Linked DNA regions of Homo sapiens: region 2 is linked to region 1. Evidence: promoter capture Hi-C in 16 types of primary human blood cells and fetal thymus (Javierre and others, 2016). All regions are on one chromosome and are shown on one strand. Each heading gives the region's core, a stretch centred on a gene start or on the middle of the fragment in contact. The rest is flanking DNA. Distances are from core to core; before and after follow the strand shown.

Evidence for each region. The method cuts DNA at HindIII sites, captures the fragments that hold promoters and counts their contacts. A CHiCAGO score of 5 or more calls a contact.
Region 2: a contact is called between the fragment with the promoter of LIPI here and a fragment that was not itself captured in region 1, in 2 of 17 cell types (total CD4 T cells and naive CD8 T cells). The highest score is 5.9, in total CD4 T cells.

Annotation. Positions count from the first base shown.
Region 1 is chr21:15,055,505-15,061,040 of GRCh38, reverse strand. All of the region lies in intron 1 of NRIP1 (nuclear receptor interacting protein 1), which reads left to right. Among named protein-coding and RNA genes, the nearest start is that of NRIP1, 6.7 kb to the left of the region's middle. RefSeq lists enhancers at 2,099-2,148, 3,524-3,573, 3,794-3,843. The HindIII fragment of the contact is 994 bases long and covers 2,193-3,186 here.
Region 2 is chr21:14,209,155-14,214,573 of GRCh38, reverse strand. LIPI (lipase I) reads left to right here and starts at 3,619. Exons shown (of 10, transcript NM_001302998.2): 1 at 3,619-3,774. The coding sequence starts at 3,729. The HindIII fragment of the contact is 13,443 bases long and covers 1-5,419 here.

The sequences.
Region 1 (5,536 bases), core at 1,440-3,939:
GGGAGGGGGAATGAGCAGGCTCATCCTGTAGTATTTAGATAACACAACAATTAGAGAAATGTAACACCACTATGGCCACTAAGACTTGAGAAGGTAAAAACCAGGAGTGTCAGATGGTGAAACAGGCCATTGGAATGGAACTGAAGATTATGTCGAGAGGTTGGAATGAACAAAAAGTAAATGGAGGAGAGAGATCTAGTTTCTGTATCCTGTTTGCATCTGATGCTGAAGCAGAGACATGAATTGCTGATGGTAATGGATTCTATTCTCTTTTAGGAGGCCAGCAATATTATATAAATAGTGGTTGTTTGAGGGAGAGAAACGACAAGTTCCCCTTTTGTGCATGTTCACACTTTGTTTTGAATGTCTCTGAGATATCTTTAAAGTAGAGGATCAAAATTGGGTACCAGCATGGAATCAGGAGTTATACTTTGGAGGAAAATGAATTAATATTAGATCACATTTTCTTTAATCTTTTAAGATCTGGAATTTTACAAGGGTCTTCATCAACAGGGAAAACCGTGTTCTGAGTGCTAAAGTTTGGGTGGTGAACTGGATAATTCTTTTATAGGATCTCTGATAAAGATAAACATGTAAATAACTGCAGAAATAATGCTTTATTTAAGCACATTACCTATGATTCATGGTAGGGGGAAAATAGAGACCACAGAAACTCCTGAAGTCTTATCAGGGTTTCTTTGCAAACTATTATATGGATGCCCATCTGTTGTTTTTTCTTGAAATTTAGTGTTCAGGTTGATGGATACTGAATGTATAGGATTCTGAAGGTTGGAGTTTATTTAAAACAGAACTTTCCTTTTGTTTTACTACGAGTTATGAAATGCAGTTTTAATTTGTTGCAATAAATATAGAAACTGAGATGAGTAGGAATTTATACTAACTTTTCTCACTGTTATGGTACATACTCTATATCATGAACCTTGAAATTCAAATTGATCCCTACACTATCTTGCAAATATTACAAATGAAGAATTACAAAAGTTGTGGTATTTTAGCTTATCAAAATGCACCCGAAACATAAAATATTTTTCTTTAAGTTCTTAAATCAGAAGAATAGGAAAGAGTTGAAAATAAATGTGATACATTTTATCATTATATTAGTATTTTGTTGAAATTAATACCTTGAATCATGCTATGGATAAACATTTAGCCTAGAACTCTAAAAGTAGTATAATGTGAATCAGATTTAAAGAATTGAGAAGGCTGGCAATTCAAAAATAGAGGAAGAAAACACTCTTTGGGGTTATGAAAAAAAGGATCCTCTTAGTATTAAGATTTCTTAAAAAGCTATACACAGTTTTAAGATAGATTGTTCTTGAAGATAATGGGGCAAATAATTACCTGCTAAACAAATTATGAGTCCTGTGATTCTTTTTTTGGTTGAAATAATTTCAAGAACTCCAGCATATGTTGCAGTTTTGGCTAGAAAGGTGATTGTGACATACATCCATTCATCCATTCTCCCTCTCTCCTTCCCTCCTTCCCTCCCTTCCTTCTTTCCACTTTCAATACATAGGGCTGGGGTAGCAAAAAAAAATAATAATAGTAAACAGTTTTGTAAAACTTGATAATAGAATTATCTGACAGGGTTAATAGTTGTGTTTGAAATTCAGAGCTAGTATGGTTCACTCTCCCCAGAAAATAAAATTTTAATTTCTTACACCTCAGGGAATAAAAACTCTAAATTAAAACCCATCTTGCCTCTTTAACTTTGTGTCACTTAGCAAAAATATCTTTAAGGATGGAAAGAAGAGACCCCATGTGTCTTAAATTCCAAGTCACTGTGTGACTAAGCTCGGAGTTCCAATAAATATTAAACTAGAATTCTGCTGGGAATTTGAGTCATCCGCTTAAGCTACTCCTGGGACCAAGACAACTCTGGTTGACCTGATGTTGATGTTTATTCAGAGCTTTGGTGGAAAGGAGCCTCTCACCCTTGGACTTCTAATTAACAAAGTCATTCCTTAGTCACTTGTTAAGTGATAGAGCTACTCCTTGTTTTCAGGCCTGTAATTTGCTAAAGGATTGAGCACAACAGAGAAACTAAGGAGTTTGGAGCTTCTGCTGTTTAGAGTCTGCTTTCATTATTTTACTTTTACTTTCTTATCTAGCTATGTGAGGGTACTATGTAAAAGTCTGGTGATTTGCTTTAGATACTTAAGAGAAAAGCTTAGCTGTAGTCACATATAGTGTCTAAGATGGCTTTCCTTATAGTTACATGTTTTTAATAGTTGAGTTTGCCTATACTCTTCATAACATGTGCACATGTTAAATATGTTACTGCTTTAAAAAAGCATTTCATTAGTAAGATGGGGAATCGTTTATGTACAATATTGAAATGAGAGTAGTAGTATAATGGTGTGTTTGGTAACTAACAGGACACAATCAAAATTTGAGAATTAGAAGTTCAGAATGAAAAAAGGACTTCTCTCTTGAGGAATCTATCTAGAAGTTGAGAGATAGCAAGTGTTTAACAGAGTGTAATGATTTCTGAGAAGCATGCTTTTAAAGATTTTTTTTAAATTCCTGAATTTATGAGTTTATATTATAATAATCTATAATAGAGCAATAGATTTATACACTGGAAAAGAAACAAATTAAGGGAAGGAGAGAATACACAATGACATGGAGGACATCAAGAAAATATGTTTGGAAACATGTGAAACTCTCCAAATGGGAAATAAATATTCTTGAGAGAAATTAATCACAGTTGCAGTTTTTCTCCTAAAGGGACTGTTTGCACAATGGGTTATGTAGGCTCAGGTTTGATTTTTGAAAAACATGTTAAAAAATAGTATTCCTGTTATTCCACGTTTATTTTTCGAGTTTAGGTTCTGCTACTAAATCAAGATGATACAGATAAAAGGAAAGCCCTTTTATCTCCCCCGGCAGCATCTGTTGAATAAGGGGGTTATATTTGATTTCTAAATTCTAAAATTCTGACTGTACAGCAGTATATGCCGTTGTTGACAGTAAACAGTAAAGATTTCAAGCCTGTGGTTTTAAAAGAAGAAGAGATGATTGGGTAGAAACTTGGAATATTAAGAAGTTGTTTAGTTACTTGGCTGTTGCCTTTTCCTGTTTTGTTGGGAGGGGGAGCAGGGAAAGGAAGAGTATTGAACTTTTTGGGGCAACCGTTTTGTGCCAGACATTGTGCTGGAAGCTTTACACACATTTTGTCTTTTAATCCTTCCAGTTCCCCTGTGACATGTAGGTATCATTTTCTCTAGTTTAGAGATAAGGAAACCTAGTCTGAAAAATGCAAGAATAGTTAACTTGCCTGTGGTCACATGGCAAATTTCATTGATAATTTGATTTTCTTAAAGAATATGCCATTGTTTGAAGAAAAAACCAGTTGCCATCTGACATTCAGGAAGCCGTTAAAAAACCTTGCTCCCAACCTGGTAGCCATAAAACTCATGCAGCATTTGCAAGCCTCATAGCCTGGATTCTCCAAGACCAGGCTCTCTGGGAAGGCACATTGTTGCCAGTCGATGATTCTGCAGCAGCTTATGCTAGTTCTCAAAGCGCTGATGTCCTGCTACCTGCATTGCGCTGGAGGGAAATGTAGTCACCAAGGGCTGCCGCACAGGCTCTTTTCCCTCCAGTGCTAACTCTTCTGAAGTGTATCACAGAATTACTGCGGTGTTATTTGAGGCAGTGAAAGCAACTATGTTTCTTTATATAATTCATTGAAATAGCTTGTCATGGTCTTAAACTGAGTGTTCCCAAGGCTAGTTATGTTTGTCCACTTCAAGGAGCAGTTGTAGCAAATTCAGAACCATAGCTCTTCCTGGTTGAAAAGTTACAACTCTTGACTATTAACAGTTCTTAACATGATTTTTTTTTTAATTACCCTATCTTCACTCACAACAATTTTGTTAAAGACTATCCTGTGCTGATAAACTGCTCTCTGAAATGCAAAGAGGAAATTAACAATGTATTTGTGAATTGGAAGGAAGTGGAAGCAGAGAGATGAGGAGTAGTTGACTTTATTTTGAGGGTAGACTGTGTCAGGAGGGAGATTGTTGAGTGGGGGAGCTTTGTGGCACATAGTACATTTTTAAGTACATACCAGGTACGTTCTTTTATTGTTAAAGCCATAAGAAATGGAGTTATGAGCTTCTCCACCTCCTTTTACTTGCCTCATTTAAAATTTATGGAATTTTTGAACCTAAAAGATTCAAGCTGAGTGGTTCCCTATACACTGAAAGGTATAGTCAAATTGAAACTATATTGGAGACACAAAGATGAATAATAAGACGTGTAAACATAATATTTTCTAGGGTGCTTTGGATTTTGAGTTGCCAAATCATGTTGGAAAAGCAAGAGATTTGTATAAAAGCTGCAAAGGAAACATCTGTGTTTTGTTTAGAGAATACGTTATATTTTGGCCAAATAAGAAAAAAGAGAAATTGTCAAAGTGAACAATATGGGGGGAAGAATGTCTTCCTAAAGATCAGAATGAACTTATATTATTTCCTTAACTGATCCATGCTTTTTAAAAAAAAATGAATTAAAATACACTGAATCTATGTGAAGCCAAATATAAGGATTGAAAACAGTCTTTTTTAAATTTACCATCTGATTCCTTTCCAATATCTGGATGTTTGCTATTATTGTGGCAAGACCCATTGTTAACTGTATTGCTAAAAATCTACTTTTATCTATCCTGGTAATACTTGACTGACCTGAGTCAAAGTCACATTTTCTTTTTTTTTTTTTTTTAACTTTGAATTTCTTTTGCTTGGGCTTTCACAAATTGAAGTTATTTCATAGAATCGTTAGATTTTTCAGGTTGGAAGAGAATTTGATAAAAGCTACGGCTGCTCTGGATTTAAGCACACCTATCTTAGAGGCACCTTGTCCTCCCCCCATTTATCAAACAAGTTAGTTTTTAGATGCATCTTTTGTATGGAAGAGCACACAGTTAGTGTAGACTATAAATAAAATAATGATAAAATGCTACCATTTAGTGCTTATGTGCCATTTTCTTTCCTTTTGGGTTTCCTTCTTTATTTCTGTTTTGTCTTTACTCTGTTTTCCTTTTTATTTCTTAATATCTCATTCATCTTTTTTTTTAATTGCCAGGGGATCCATGTGATACAATGGGGTCAATAATTACTTATCTTCCTGTAGTTTTTGTTATTGCTGTTAAGTTAAAATGCCCAAAACAGTTACTATCTGCATTTTACGGAGGAAGAAATTGAGTCCTTAAGAATTTAAAGACGTTTTGAAAGTCATTCAGCTAGCAGTTGGGTAGACCTAGGATGGTCAGTCAAATCTTGATTTATTTCACACTTTTTTGTTTATTTTTGTCAAAGCAGTCTCAGAAAGAGGGGTTTGTGTACCAGGTGTTAAGGAATAGTTAATAACCTTTGGTGATGGATCCCGCAGTAAAATCCAAGCTAACCCCACAAAGGGATCTATAATAATAAGAACTGGGTCTTGAGACATGAAACGAGAATTGGCTGGCTGCATCACTTTTGTTCTAGTACCTTATTTTCTTCTCATG
Region 2 (5,419 bases), core at 2,370-4,869, 850 kb after region 1:
AGGTTTCAGTTTAAACCATTGCATGTATATGAGTGCGTATGCTACAAACCTTTAACTACACTTGTAATTAATGTTCATATTATATTGTTCTATTGAAATTTGCATCCTTCTTTGTCTACAAATGTGCATAATTTTGGTGTTATAATATCCTCTTCTGGCCGTACATAAGTTTATAGTGCTTATAATTCTAGAATACTTAGTTAATATTATAAACTCTGAAAGTCAGCTTCTGTAGTTAGCAATTTTTTCAGAATATGATCTCAATATATCATTTTTCTAATGTAAGCATGTTCTGTTTCTTAACTCATATTGAATGCATGCATGGTAATAAATCTAGTAGTAGGTTAAAAATAATTCACTTCACTTTCAGTATTTACTGTACCATTAGTCATATATCAGGTTTTAATGGGTTAAATACATGTAACACTCTATAAAGAGCTAGCCTTTCTTCATTTATATCAGGATGTCTGATGTCCCTAGCTGAATGAACATATAATAAATGAAAATATATGTATATATACATGTATACCTCTGTATGTCTATATATGTATAATTAGAGCTCATTTCTTTATCTTCTTTTGCCCAGCCAACTTTTTTTTTTTTGAGATGGAGTTTTGTTCTTGTCGCCCAGGCTGGAGTGCAATGGCCCAATCTCGGCTCACTGCAACCTCCGCCTCCCAGATTCAAGCAATTCTCCTGCCTCAGCCTCTGAGTAGCTGGAATTACAGGTGTGTGCCACCATGCCCGGCTAATTTTTGTACTTTTAGTAGAGACAGGGTTTCACCATGTTGGCCAGGATGGTCTCAAACTCCTGACCTCAGGTGATCTACCCGCCTTGGCCTCTCAAAGTACTGGGATTATAGGCGTGAGCCACTGTGCCCGGCCCTGTGCAGCCAACTCTTACTCTCTTTTGTAGTTAAGCCCAGGCAACATGTCCTGCAATGCTTCTCTGAACTCTGCCTTCCAAATTAGCTGGCCACTCCACTTGTGTGCTTCCATAGTTCCCTAGGTACACTTCTGTCAAGTCCTTCTCACTGGGAACTAGTATAGAGTAAATATATTTCAGTACCTAAGACAATCTTTGACACACCTGTAGGTGTATAATAAATAGCTATTGAAAGAATACAGATTAAATAAATTAATGTCTTTACTTTGTATCCCCAACAACAAAGTCTGTGCCTGGAAATCAATAGGTACTTAATAAAAGTTGCATAAGTGAATGAACAACTGAAACAGAAGGAAGGAAGGAAGGAAGGAAGGAAGGAAGGAAGGAAGGAAGGAAAGGAGGTTGGCCAACTACTATTAAGGGATTTTATTGGATGCTTTTTTAAATTGAACTCATTTTTGTCTTCACTTTTTTAAACACTTATTTTGTCTTTATTCTGATTTTTTCTGAACCATATTTTTGTCAAGTAAATACAGTTTTTCAATTGTTTTATGTGTATTAGATGTTTATTATAAATAAATATTGTTAAAATTTAAGGAAATAAAGTAAAAATTACTGACAAATTTATCATGCAGAGATAACTATTTTGGAGGAAAACCTTCCAGACTTTGAAATATATATATATCACACTTTAGGAAAATATATATATATATTTATATATATCACACTTTAGGAAAATAAAGCATGCTATATAATACTGTTTTTTAGCTTGCCCTCTGCCCTCTAAAACTTTTTGTAATGAAAAAGGTGTAATGAAGGCCTTTTACACCAATAAATACTGATCAATCTGTATCATTAGTTTTAATCCACAGTAGATACCTAATTAGACTAATCTCTCATTGTTAGATTTTATATTGCTTTCATTTTTTGACTGTTATTGGAATGGTGAGATGAATGTCTTTGCTCATATATTTGTGCACATGTAGGCCATTTGCCACATAAAAGGACCTTGGATGTGTCTGTAGGAAAGTGTCTTGGATTTCTGTAGGAAGTATCTTTGTTGCTTAATTGCTGAGTCAAAGGGTAAGATTGTTAAACATTTTGACACATTGACAAATTAATAAAAGGTTGTGACAAAATATATTGTGATAAACAATGATTTTCCATCTCAAACACTAATTAACTCACTTGTAAAGTGCTTGAAGAACGCCTGATACATAGGGCTCAATAAATTTTAAATCTTCATCATCATCATCACATCATCATCATGAACATCCCCTTTGAGTTAATGTTTACATTGTAAGTGTGTATGTAAGCTACTTACAATCATTTTTTATATCCAAGGAGGACTAAACAAGTGCTCAAATAGATTGTCTTACTAAACTATTGGCATTTTGTAACTTTGTCATCCCCCAATATTTTCCTATTTAATGCAATGAACATTAATAACCTCATCTTTCTCATATTGGCAGTAGGCAAAATACATGATAATGAAGAAGCATGATTTTTAATTTTGAAACTCTATATTATACTGCCTGATATGCCAGTATTTTTCAGTATGAACTCATAAAGATGAAAGTAAATGTGCAAGAGTCATATTATAATGCCACATTGAAAGCACAAAGAGAAAAGGAAATTATAAGTGAAGGAGGAAAGATTTGTATTTTAATTTATTAAGTAAAATTTGTTAGGAAAAATTTGTTCTAGGATGTATGACACATTATCTTTCTTCCCATATTCTGAAATGATGTGGCTTATTTATATCTTTGTTAGAGAGGTGCAGTTCTTACAGCTAAGTGCTGTGGAAGGACCTAGATTATTTTTGGTCTTCAAACAAATTGTAGTGGTGGTATTTTTTAAAAAATGGAAATCTCATGTAAAACACCCAGAGATCAGACAGTTCAAAATAATGATGGAACTTCCTCAGCAGTTAAATGTTTGTGATTTTTTTAAACTAATACTTCATTTTGTTTGTGAATTTTCTCAAATACTTCCCCAGACCTCAGATTAGTTTCTGCAGATTTATAACATACAAAAAACACTTCTGTTCTTACTGTATTTTTGGAACTTTAGAGAAACTTGAATTTTTTAAAAATGAATTAATTTTTAAACTTTCAATTTATGTACTTAGAACAACTCCCAATTTTTCTTGCTTACTAAAGTCCATTGCTAAGAAAAGAAGATAATTAAGTAAACATGTAAAAAGAAAATGTATGCTAATTTTAAAATGGTCATCATATTAAATACTTTTTTTTTTATAATTTTCACCTTTTAGCCTCAAGTGATGAGCCAAAATTTTGAATGTTAAAATAGCCCCTGCTTTGGGGATGTAAAATAACATAAATATGAAAAGCTCATCTTTTATACTTGAAAGAGCTTAATGGATATGGCTTTCATTATTGATTTATGGTATATAAAGATATCTTAGTTTGTAGTCAAAGTGAATATAAACCACAACTTTTTCTGACTCTTTCCATTTCTAGCATTTTCTAACATCACATTTGCATATTTTCCTGACCGCTTCTGAAATCCTGAGGTTAAAAGGAATACAGAAAGATGTAATTAGATTTATCATTCCCTTAAATTCAACTTGTGTAGCTGAAGGTTTGTTTGTGACTTATTACAGAGCCTGTGACTTAAAAATCCTTCCCACAACCACAAGCTAAAGTGGGAGAAAACAAACTACCTCACCTTTTCAACCAAGAGGGAGGAGCAAAAATCAGTGAACTTTTACAGAAGAACCTGCCAGCCTGTGATGATCCTACCAAAGAGAAACCTCAATGAGTTACGGAATTTCCTTTTTGGTGAATTGAGTGCTGTTTTTGCTTTTCTCAGATTCCAAATGAGAGTATACATTTTTCTTTGTTTGATGTGCTGGGTGAGATCTGGTAAGATATTAATTAATAATTTGATTTATCTTTAAAAATTGCATATAAAATAGTGTGGTCTGTATTCTGGGATAAAGAATGTTATGATATAATGGGATAAAAATATGTTAGATTATTGGTACTAATTATAACAAACATTACTATTAAGAAAACTTCTGTGTGTGTACGTGTGTGTGTGCATGTGTTTGTTTAATAAGTTGACATTTTGCATTTTATTTCCTTGCCAGATAATTAGTAACTAGAAAACCTTTTTTTAAAAAAAGATGTAACTAGAGAATAAATAGAAATACTCAAGAGAAAAAAATTCAGTAATGGAGAAATTAATTTGGTATTTAAAATTATGCCTTAAATATCTTGTTTCAATTTTATTTGTTTAACTAGCTCTACTTTTGAAGAAAATTCTTACTTGGATAAATTATCGATTGCAAAACAAACAAAATAACCAGATACTACAACTTTTGCTCTCATTCAGTATGACGAAAAACAAAGCTGGTTTATGGTAATAAGGTAGAACTTTATTCTGGTTTATTGGCGTACAGTAATAAAGTTTATCAATATTAAGAGTATCGTTTTCTACTTTATGAGAAAGTAGAATTACTTGTTCGACTTATAAGTAGAACAATTAGTTCTACTTTATGGTAATAACAGTGGCAAATTTAAAATTCAAGATGATAGTTTTCTGTAGGGGTTTTATGAGAGCAGATTATTTCCTTTATGTTTTAAATTTATTTGAAATTTGTTAATGCATACTTGAATAACTTTAAAATTAACTAGAAATTACCATTATTTCTTATGTTTTCAATTGGCTATTTGAGATAACCATAAATTCTGGAAATGTTTGAATTTTATATTTAAATATAGAAACTAAATGATACTGATATGTAGTTTATAATTTATATTATTACTCTTAAGTTTCTTGATAGGGATTTTATGTTATTATAATGTAAAATAGTGGCACCTTCAGTTGAAAGCCAGAGAAATTTGAAGTCTAGGCCCCTAATCTTATGTGTCATTTTTAATACAGTTATAATCATTTTAATATCATAGTTTACATTAAAAACTTATTTGACAGACTTTCTGATATTATTGTTTTGATTAGTATTTATTTAGTCAGTTGCCTAAATTTTCAGTTGGGAAAATTCAAACATAATTGCTTTGTATGTTTCTGTCTGCTAATTCTTGTGTAATGATGATTAAAATACAATAGTAGAACTTTTAGATATTAACAGTAGTAAATAGAAAATAAGTGAATTACAAATTTTACTGATCCTCAAATTCATTTTTAACCCATGTAGACTCTATGCATTCTCTCATTTTCCTTGAATCTCTACTTGATTAAAAAATTTTGTTGATTTCCAGTAGTTTATTTCATACAAGTGTGTTTTATTTATTACACATGCTCCTTTCTTCTCCACTAGAGATTCTGATATATACCTCAAGGAGGGCATGTTTCATGGTTGTCAACATGAAAATCATTGATTAAATCTGCCTTTAATAAAGAAACGACATTCCGAAAAGCAGTTTAGTCAGGTGTTTTTAAAAATTGTAAGTAGAATAAAATGGGAGAGGAGAGATAGATCAAAAAACTTTATACAGATATACAGTACATCTATGTATCTGTATATTCAAATTATATGCATATATG